3 separate regions of the Homo sapiens genome follow, and regions 1 and 3 are each linked to region 2. Evidence: promoter capture Hi-C in 16 types of primary human blood cells and fetal thymus (Javierre and others, 2016). All regions are on one chromosome and are shown on one strand. The core of a region is centred on a gene start or on the middle of the fragment in contact, and the rest is flanking DNA. Distances in the headings are between cores, read along the strand shown.

Region 1 (3,093 bases), core at 103-2,602, 690 kb before region 2:
GAGAAGCATTTCTTCCCGCTAGGATAATGGCCAATTCAGAGGCCCTAGACCATGCTGTCCCCAGAGCCTGGGTGCATTGCTGATGACGAGATCCCAGCCGGGGGTCAGGCCTCCCAGGACTGTCAAGCTGGGCTGCTTGAGTCCCTGGCTCCAGGGGTGGGGGTGGGGCTGAATGGCAAGGGAGAGAGCTGGTCCATTCCAGGCTCCAACCTCAGAACCCTCTGGGAGTAAGATTACCCAGCCCTGTGCTCGGGCTGAGCAATCAACTATAGCGCACACGCTCCTTTACTGTGGTTCCGAGATAGTTAATTGAAATCTGGATACTCTGGGTAAAGTCAGAACATCCAGCTGGGCCCAGCATGGGAGATCAGCTTGATGAGTCTCCCGCACCCTATTCTGGGCATCAGCAGAGTCAGTTCTCTGAAGAGTCTTTTTCATATATATCACATAGATAGAGAGATAGGCAGGTTGGTAGGTAGGTAGATAGGTCAATAGGTAGGTAGGTAGGTAGTTAGACATAGGTATCTATCTATCTATCTATCTATCTATCTATCTATCTATCTATCTATCTATCTATCTATCTTACTGTAGTTTAGCACAGACATTGGTTAAGTCATGTCACTCCTCTGAACCTCAATTTTCTCATCTCTAAAATGGGGATATTAGGCCGGGCGAGGTAGCTCATGCCTGTAATCCCAGCACTTTGGGAGGCCAAGGCAGGTGGATCACCTGAGGTCAGGAGTTCAAAACCAGCCTGGCAAACATGGTGAAACCCTGTCTCTACTAAAAAATACAAAAAAAATTAGCCAGGTGTGGTGGCACGCACCTGAAGTCCCAGCTACTCGGGAGGCTGAGGCAGGAGAATTGCTTGAGACTGGGAGCCAGAGGTTGCAGTGAGCCAAGATCACACCATTGCACTCCAGCCTGGGTGACAGAGCAAGACTCTGCCTCTAAAAAATATAAAATAAAATAAAATAAAATAGAGATAATAATAGACCCACCTCCTAGGATTGCTACATGAGGGCAATGAACTGATCTACATAAAGCACCAAGCATAGTGTCTGGCAGGTAAAGTTGGCCAGTAATGTCATCAACATTGTTATATAATAATAATTATTGTCATTAATTTTATTGCCCAACTGGCGTCCCAGCCTGAGCTGAAGCTCTGTCTCTTGGCCACCCTGTCCAGGAGGTATGAGCCTGTTTTCTTGGGCCAGATCTTCTGCTTGGCTTGAAGCCAAAGTGTGACTTCCCAACCTCTGCATGCAGCCCCCTCCCCAGGGTGCTGGTTGGTCTCTCCTCTCAGCTGCTGCTGCAATGTGCTTCACAGTGACAACACACCCACAGCTCCAGTGGCAGTTGATGCATCCTTGTGGCCAGAATCATGCCTGGCAGGACGCATGTGGCAAAGGGCTTGTCTGGGTCGGTGCTATGCTCTCTGTGCCAGGGAAAATCCAGCTCTTGGAGTGGGTGAGAGCAGGGAGGCCTTCATGGTGGTGGAGTTAGGGGATGGGAGAGACAGGGAAGCAATGAGGGGCTTGCACAGAAAATATCGTTTTACCCTAAGTACCCAGATGACAAATGAGACCCAAAATGACCTTTGGCAGGGGCCGTGGCTTCTGGGGACCCCAGCGTTTGACAGAGCAGGTGGCAGAGCCGCAGGACCCAGCTCTAGTGTGTGGCAGTTTGTTGGTTTCATTGCCGTTGCTGGGCCAGACGTGCACTGAGGACCCCGGGATAAAGGGGTTTACTGTGAGGATGCTGGGGCCCAAGACCTCGTGGGCACAGGACCCAGGTGAAGACCCCAGGGCCCGTGAAGAGCCGAAGTGGATTTCACTGTAGGGGCTTCTTGTCATCCCCAGGGGTACACATTCTTGTGGCCGCTCCTGCTGCTGGCAGCCGAGTCCTTGGCCACGAGCCCAGCCTCCTCTGGGGGGTGGGTCTCAGCCCAGGCCCACATCGGGCTGTTGATTTCATTGGCTGCTGGCTGGCCTCGCCATTGGCTGCTTGCAGCCAGGTGCTCACCCCTGCCCATCAGCTGTGGCCATGGTGGTGCCAGCAGGGAGAGGAGCATGTGACTTGCACGTGAGGAGTAGCCGAAGGCTTCTTCCCTAGGGGACATGTGTCTACCTCGGGGCGATGCGTCTACCTGTGGATGGGGAGGGACCCCTTATTGGGGCCCAGGCAGGTCCGCATTCTGGGCCTTGTCCAGTACACCCTCTGGTTTCCAACCAGCCAACCAGGCTCCTGGGGGACCCACCAACCCTCCCCTTTCTTCTCCGTACTTCTCTCCTCACCTGGTAGACACACATGTCTTCATTTTGGTTCTTACGTTGAGAGACAAACCCATCCTTCCCTCCCTTTCTTCCTTCCTCCCTCCCTCCCTCCCTCCCTCCCTTCCTTCTCTCTCCCCTTCCTTCCTTCCTTTCTTTCTTTCTTTCTTTCTTTCTTTCTTTCTTTCTTTCTTTGTTTCTTTCTTTCTTTCCTTCCTTCCTTCTTTCTTTCTTTCTTTGTTGGTTTCTTTCTTTCTTTGTTTCTTTCCTTCCTTCTTTGTTTGTTTGTTTCTTTGTTTCTTTCTTTCTTTCTTTTTTCTTCCTTTCTTTCTTTCTCTCTGTCTCTCTTTCTCTCTTTCTTTTCTTTCTTTCTTGCACCTAGGTTGGAGTGCAGTGGCATGATCATGGCTCACTGCAGCCTCGACCTCCCAGCCTCAAGTGATCCTCCCTCCTCAGCCTCCTAAGTAGCTAGGACCACAGACATACACCACCATGCCTGGCTATTTTTTTTTTTTTTAACTTTTTGTAGAGACAAGATCTCCCTGTATTGCCCAGGCTGGTCTCAGACTCCTAAGGCTCAAGTGATCCTCCTGCCTCGATCTCCCAAAGTGCTGAGATTACAGGCATGAGCCACTGCACCCAGCCTGAGACAATGCTTTCTCTACCAGTCTCTACCCCATTGCACTAATAGTCAGTGGAAGGCTGCAGACCTTCACACGTGAGTCCCTGGCCCTGGGCCTCAGGCAGGGTTTGCTGGGTGTATGTTTACCCAATAGTTGTGGGAAAGTGGGTGCTGACCTCACCGGGTGCGGAGGACAGG
Region 2 (3,443 bases), core at 88-2,587:
AGGGATATTTCAGGCCTGTTAAGCATTCTAAAAACCAGAGCTAGCCCAGGGCCTAGCACTCAGAAGTGTTCAGTGGATATTGACTGAATGAATGAATGGATGAATGAATGGTAGACAGGCAGGCAGGCAGGGCCCAGGACCTGGCAGGGCCATACCACCCCCAGTACAACCCAGAACACCAGCGTCAACGTTCTTTGGCATTCAGTCCTGGTGCCCTCAGCGGACCCAGGTTCTCACATCTCGCAAGACAGCAGCATGAGCAGGCCCTTCCCAGGCAACCAGGGCTCAATGAGGGGCTCCAGCCTTCCCTGGCACTCAACCATCTTACCCAGGGAGGGTCTTGCAAGGTGGGATAACATTAACTGCAGGTATTTACTGAACGCTTACTGCATGCCGGGCACTGTACTCAGCCCTTCTTGTGCCTCCTGCTATTTGATGCTCATACCATCACCAGAAGGTAAGCACTGTAATCAGTCCCACTTTAGAGATGAATTAACTTAAGCAGAGGCAGGCACCTGCACAAGGCCTCAGCCTCAACTGGAGCCCAGATGGGTCTGACCCCCACGCCCAGGCTCTGCGCCACTCTTACTAGACAGCCTCCAGAACGCCGCTAATGGACCTCTCAACTGGAAAGCCCTGCACTTCGAGAGGTGTGTCTGATGGGAAGCAACAGAAGTCAAGTTCCCGGAGGCTGCCCGCCCCCTCATCGGGTCCTCTCTGTTGTGGAATCGTGCCCTGCTCAGGGCGTGGCACCACAAGTACTCAAAAGCCTGGCTTCGGCTTGCACACTCCCAGCAACGGGGAGCTCTTTCTCTTACAAGCAGCCCAAAGCACTGTTCGAAGGAAACAAGACACTCCCTGCACGCTGGAACAGGAGTGCGGCCTCTCTGGGACAGGGGAGGGCGGGGAAGAAGGGCCAAGGTCCAGGCCAGGGATCTTTTCTCGCCTCACACAGATCCTCAACCCATTTCAGCCCACCGGCGCCCCGGGACCCGGGGGAGCGCCCTGGCCGCGCAGCCGCAGAGTGCGCGAGCGAGCGCCTCACAATTTCGCCCAGCTCATCCTCGCACCACTGCGCCTGCGCGGCGCGCGCGCCGGCCGAGCCCCTCCGTGGTTCACTATTTGACAGTTCCCACCCCGGTCCCCCGGCGCCCCCTCCGCGGGCTCGAGCAGGCCGGAGCGCCCGGGACTGAGAGGCCGTCCCTGGGAAGGCGTCCTTGGAGCCGGGACCGCCTTTTACCTGCAGGATATTCGACGTGGGTGAGGGTCACCGGCCGCCATGAAGCGGGGAGCGAGCACTGTCCGTCCGCTGCCATCTTACCCGGAGACCGGGCTTCTTCGAGCAGCCAATGGGGAGCCAGGGGGGCGGTGGTCCTGACCTATCACGCCGGGGAGGCGCCGTGCACCCAATCGGAGGCCAATATAGGTAGCGGCGCAGCCATTCAGCGTGCAGGCCGTGGGGGCTGGCCCGAGCGGCGAATCAGAGAGCGGGGCCCCTGGGAGCCAACGAGCCGCCCCAGCTGGCGCCCAATCTGGGGCGAGCGCAGGTAGGCATCTGGCCAATCAGAGAAGGGGAGGGTTCCAGCACCGAACAGGGAGCATAACAGCCAATCAGAAGGTGAGGCTGCCTCAGCTTGTGGGCAGGGCGGGCCAATCAGGCGCTGGCTTTGGGGGCGTGTTGAACTTTGGTGGGAGCTTTGGTTCGGCTGGGACCTGCGCCCTGAATGAAGGCTTCCCTGGTACCCCCTGCCGATCCGCGGTCTTGGGGACCTGCGCGTCCGATAGCGCGTGCTCGAAGAGGAGAGGCAACCTCAGCTCCAGGGGGTTTGAACCGACCCACTTTCAGTTACGAGTAAACTGAGACCAGAGAGCAGAGGGGGCTTATTTCCCTCTGCCCCATACTGGCCGGCGAAAGGGCAAGTCACACAGAGCAGGCGACCTTTTTGTCAAAAGTGTGTGGGGCGGGGCGCGCAGTAGGCGCCCTAAACGCTGGACTGAACAGAGAAGCTTAATTGATACTTAAGAGTGGAAGCTTAGCTACAGTTAAGGACTCCTTCCTCCTTTCATTCATTTAATAAAGATTTATTGATTCAGTCACGTCTATGCTACTTAATGAGGCGTCTTGGGAGCATTTCAAACAAGAAGTCGGTTTTCCACCTACCCCTCAGTTTTCCCAAGACATTCCTGCGTGAACAGCCACACCTTCCCACCCGCCTTCACCTCTCCTACCCGACTCTGTCTCTGGCTGGATTGGATTACAGTGCAGGTAAGGTGGGCTGGGAGGGCTCAGCCTCTTGTCTCCTGCCGCTAGCATGTGCTGTTTTTGTCTGTTTGTTTGTTTTTTGAGACAGGGTCTTGCTCTGAGGCCCAGGCTGGAGTGCAGTGGAACGATCTTGCTCAGCCTCCTGGGTCCAAGTGATTCTCCTGTCTCAGCCTCCCGAGTAGCTGTGACTACAGGCGCGCACCACCGCATCCGGCTAATTTTTGCATTTTTAGTAGAGACCGGGTCTTACCATGTTGGGCAGGCTGGTCTCGAACTCCTGGCCTCAGGTGATCCACCTGCCTCGGCTCCCAAAATGCTGAGATTACAAGCGTGAGCCGCCATGCCCAGCTAATTTTTTTTTTTTTTTTTTGAGACGGAGTCTCGCTCTGTTGCCCAGGCTGGAGTGCAGTGGCACGCCCGGCTAATTTTCGTACTTTTCGTAGAGACGGGGTTTCACCGTGTTGGTCAGGATGGTCTTGATCTCCTGACCTCGTGATCCGCCCACCTCGGCCTCCCAAAGTGCTGGGATTACAGGTGTGAGCCACCGCCCCTGGCCACCATGTGCTGTTTTGCTGCGTGGGATGTACTGCCTCTCCTGCCCTACTTTGCCCGGCCCAATCTGGTTCAGGTGTCTCCTCGGCTTACAGGTTTCCACAGTCAAGTGAGGGGCCAGTACTGGGCTCTCACGGTTGCATTTCCTGTCCTTTCTCAGCCCTGACCTCACTGGACTGTAATCGGCTCCCTATCCCTCCCAGTCAGCAGCGGCTCTCAGATTCATGGAGTGCTGAGATCAGCCTGTAGAAAACACAGATTCCTGGGTCACAATGGGGCCTGGGTTGATCCAGTAGGTCTGAGTTGGAGCCCAGGTGTCTGCATTCTTATGTGCTCTGGTGGTTCTGATACAGGTGGTTACAGCCACCACTGGAGAAACCCTGGGCAACATGAGGACAGGGCCTGGTACATCCTGAGCCTGGTCCAGACCAGACCTAGAGCAAGTGTCTGATAAGTGACACGAGCGCCCCTGAGGTGAGTTGAGAATTACCCAGGAAATCCCACTGAGAGTGGCTCTTTCTGCGAGTGGCCAGGCCAGTAGAGCGGGGACCGTGAGCTGGCCTGTGTGGCCGGAGATGATGGCGACTCAGAACCCACCAAAGAGCCCAGAAGGCCCACTGCCCTGCTG
Region 3 (3,098 bases), core at 321-2,820, 550 kb before region 2:
GGATCGGAGGAGTGAACCTGGGCTAAGAGTTTGGCATTGCAGGAGCTCCCAGAGAGACTGCCTTCCCTACACTAGAAGTCCCCACAAAGGCTTCTGAGACCACAAAATACAAGGCCAGACCTAGAGTGTCCACAGCAGGCCTGTGCTGCCCGCCTCAGGAGGTGGCCGACTGCTGCTAGCGGCCTGCCGCCACGTCAGCAGCCCAGGGCACAGCGCTCGAGGTGTGCTGTTAGGCTAAGAGGGTGCAGGGCTAGACACGAAGCTTAAACTATTCATCTTATTAAAAATAAAACCCTTATAAAACTCCTCACTTTGAATGCAGTAAGTTATTGGCCATTAAAATTTTTTCAACAAAAAACTGCACCCAAATGGATGGTAGCAGGTATTCAACTGAAACAAAACCTAGAAGGAAGAAATCTACCTTTTAGGCCGAGCCTGTCCCTCAGTCCTGGGAAGTACGGGGTGGGGGTGGGCCTGGGCGGGGTGGGGAATCCTCACTGGCCCACTTGCTGCAGGAGTGCAAAGCCCTGGTCCTGACACCTTATGGGGAACGCGAGTGGCAGGAGACATACAGGTGAGCAGGGAAGGGCGGTGGAACCCTCACCTATCACCCACTGGATCCAGATCACGTCGTAAGAGTCCGGCTCCGGGGTGAAGTCCTGGAGCCCACAACAGAAGTAGTTCCTCACCCTCTTGCCCTCCTCCCCCAGGTAGGTCTTGGCTTGAACCAGGAAGTCCTCCGTTATGTCGACCATATCCACCTCTCTGAACAGCGGCAGGAGCAGCCGCTTGGTGATCCTCCCAATGCCAGCTCCACAGTCCAGGGCACAGGACGTTCCTGTCTTGTTCGGGCCTTCCTGAAAAGCAGAGGCATATAACCTATCAGAGGGACCCTGTCACCGCACGTGCGGCCCTTCCTCACGAGCCCTAGGACTTAGACTCAAGTCAGGATTCCAGGACTCCGCACAAGCTGAGCACTGGTGGGGAGGTCTGTGCTGGCTGCCAGCTTGTACGGAGTCGAGGGGATGAGCATGGGAGGACACACTGCTGGGCCACACATTCCTTTATCTTTGAAAGTTCAGGTTGCATTCTGCATTCTGTTCAGGTTGGAATGCAGTGGTGGGATCATGGCTCACTGTAGCCTCGAACTCCTGGGCTCAAGCCATCCTCCATCTTCCCACCTCAGCCTCCCAAGTAGCTGGGACTACAGGCATGCGCCACCATGCCCAACTCATTTTTTTTTTTTTGTATTTTTTGTAGAGACGGGGCCTCGGTCTGTTGCCCAGGCTGGTCTCAAACTCCTGGGCTCAAGCAATCCTCTCACCTTGGCATCCCAAGGGGCTGGGATGACAGGAGTGAGCCACTGCCCCTGCCCTGGGCCACACATTTCTAAATGAAAGCTAATTTCCACTTAAAGGTGATAACTTGAACAGGTGCACTAATCTCTCCTGAGTCTCCAGGTAAACAACGGCAGAGAGGAATGGGGAGAATGGAAGCGGGGCAACAGGTGAACAAGGGTGCAGAGAGGGAACATGGAGGGAGGGGAGGCGCTGGATGGAGCAGGTGGCCAACAGCAGCCTCCAGTGCCAGCCATGAGACAAGAAGGTGGGGGGCTCCAGGACTGGGGGTCCCAGCCTGGTACAGAAAAGGCTGGGGGTGGAGCAGAGGGTGGAAACCATGGCACATAACTAGGAGTCTTCGTCCAGAATAGCCAACACCCTCAGTCCAAACACCCGTGGACATGGCAGGAGAGCAAGGGTTTCGTCCCTGGCAAAACCCAACAGTTGAAGAGAGGTTTGCCCAATTCAGGCACCTCAATTCTGCCTAACAGCCAGCTCCTGTCTGGTAACCCTGAGGCTAAGTCCACAATCTAGAAGTTACCCCACTGTGCCCACCCAGCCCAGCTCCTCAAGGCTTTGGGGTAGGTACCAAGAGATAGCCAACAATCCTGCAGTGTTACATGTGTAAAAGGTGGCACCCCACATGGACTCGGCAGTGCCACCAGAGCCACAGCCTCTCCTGGAGAGCACGCCAGACCTGCCTACCCTCAAAAACCTCTGCAGAAACTTCCGGGAGCTGTTGATGTCGATGCTGGAGATGTGGCCATACCCCCCAAGCATGCCGTCCACCGTGGGTGGGATTTGTTTCCAGTAGGTCTTGGCCTTGGAATAGAATTGCTTCTCGTCTTCTATCACCTCGCTCGTCATGCTGTCACCAACCACGGCTCTACTCAAGCACCACGATCAGCAACCGCGACTCTCCTGGGTAAGGAAGGGGGCGTGAGTCAGCGGGCCAGGGACCTGGCAGAAAGGCCCCCAGGGCAGAGGGCCAGTCTCACACCAGGCTTCACAAGTCACACATCCTGCTGAGTGCAGAGAGAAGTCCAGGGTCCCCAAATCTGCTTCTACCCCTTGGATAACAGCATCTTCTGTCTTTTGCACTCAGAGCACCCGCCCCAAGTCCTGGCTTCAAGTTCTTTTACATTTTTATTTTTTCTGGAGTGCAGTGGTGTGATCATAGCTCAATGCAGCCTCCAACTCCCGAGCTCAAGAGACCCTCCCACCTCACCCTCCGGAGCAGCTAGGACTACAGTTGTGTGCCACCATGCCTGGCTAATTATTTTTTGTAGAGATGGGGTCTCACTATGTTACAAAGGTTGGTCTTGAAGTCCTGACCTCAAGAGATTCTCCCACCTTGGCCTCCCAAAGTGCTGGGATTACGGGTGTGAGCCCATGTGCCTGGCCTGGCTTCAAGTTCTTGATATGCTCTATATGACACCTGACTCAGTGGCTTCAGGGCACAGAAAACCCTGATCAATAAAGAGAAACGACCGCAAAGCCGAGAGCACCAGCAGACCCTGGAGGGCCAGGGAAGCTTCCACGCCTCCCTTCCTCTGGCTCAGAGCACAGCAACAACTCACGGTGGGGTCCAGTCCTCCGTTAACAAGGAGTGGGGACTCTGTGCCAGGCACCGGGCTGTGAACCAGGCAGCCAGCCAGGCAGAAAACAATTCTACAGACACAACCACACCTGCAGGGAGGGCTGCAGAGGAGAAGCGCCAGTGCCAGCAGAGCACGGAGGGAGGAAGTGGAGTCGGGT

Evidence for each region. The method cuts DNA at HindIII sites, captures the fragments that hold promoters and counts their contacts. A CHiCAGO score of 5 or more calls a contact.
Region 1: a fragment that was not itself captured here is called in contact with the fragment with the promoter of DOLPP1 in region 2 in 1 of 17 cell types (monocytes); the score reaches 7.4 in monocytes.
Region 3: a fragment that was not itself captured here is called in contact with the fragment with the promoter of DOLPP1 in region 2 in 6 of 17 cell types (endothelial precursors, neutrophils, non-activated CD4 T cells and 3 more); the score reaches 8.6 in endothelial precursors.

The regions. Positions count from the first base shown.
Region 1 is chr9:129,773,860-129,776,952 of GRCh38, reverse strand. No RefSeq gene overlaps it. Among named protein-coding and RNA genes, the nearest start is that of PTGES, 22 kb to the right of the region's middle. RefSeq lists an enhancer at 1,321-1,887. The HindIII fragment of the contact is 3,905 bases long and covers 1-3,093 here.
Region 2 is chr9:129,079,005-129,082,447 of GRCh38, reverse strand. It overlaps DOLPP1 (dolichyldiphosphatase 1), which reads right to left and starts at 1,337. Exons shown (of 8, transcript NM_020438.5): 1 at 1,241-1,337. The coding sequence starts at 1,316. RefSeq lists a silencer at 910-1,639. The HindIII fragment of the contact is 2,856 bases long and covers 1-2,009 here.
Region 3 is chr9:129,631,813-129,634,910 of GRCh38, reverse strand. NTMT1 (N-terminal Xaa-Pro-Lys N-methyltransferase 1) reads right to left here. Exons shown (of 4, transcript NM_014064.4): 2 at 2,046-2,261; 3 at 605-857. The coding sequence starts at 2,207. It overlaps ASB6 (ankyrin repeat and SOCS box containing 6), which reads left to right. Exons shown (of 6, transcript NM_017873.4): 6 at 1-306. Among named protein-coding and RNA genes, the nearest start is that of NTMT1, 7.2 kb to the right of the region's middle. RefSeq lists an enhancer at 2,770-3,098. The HindIII fragment of the contact is 2,612 bases long and covers 265-2,876 here.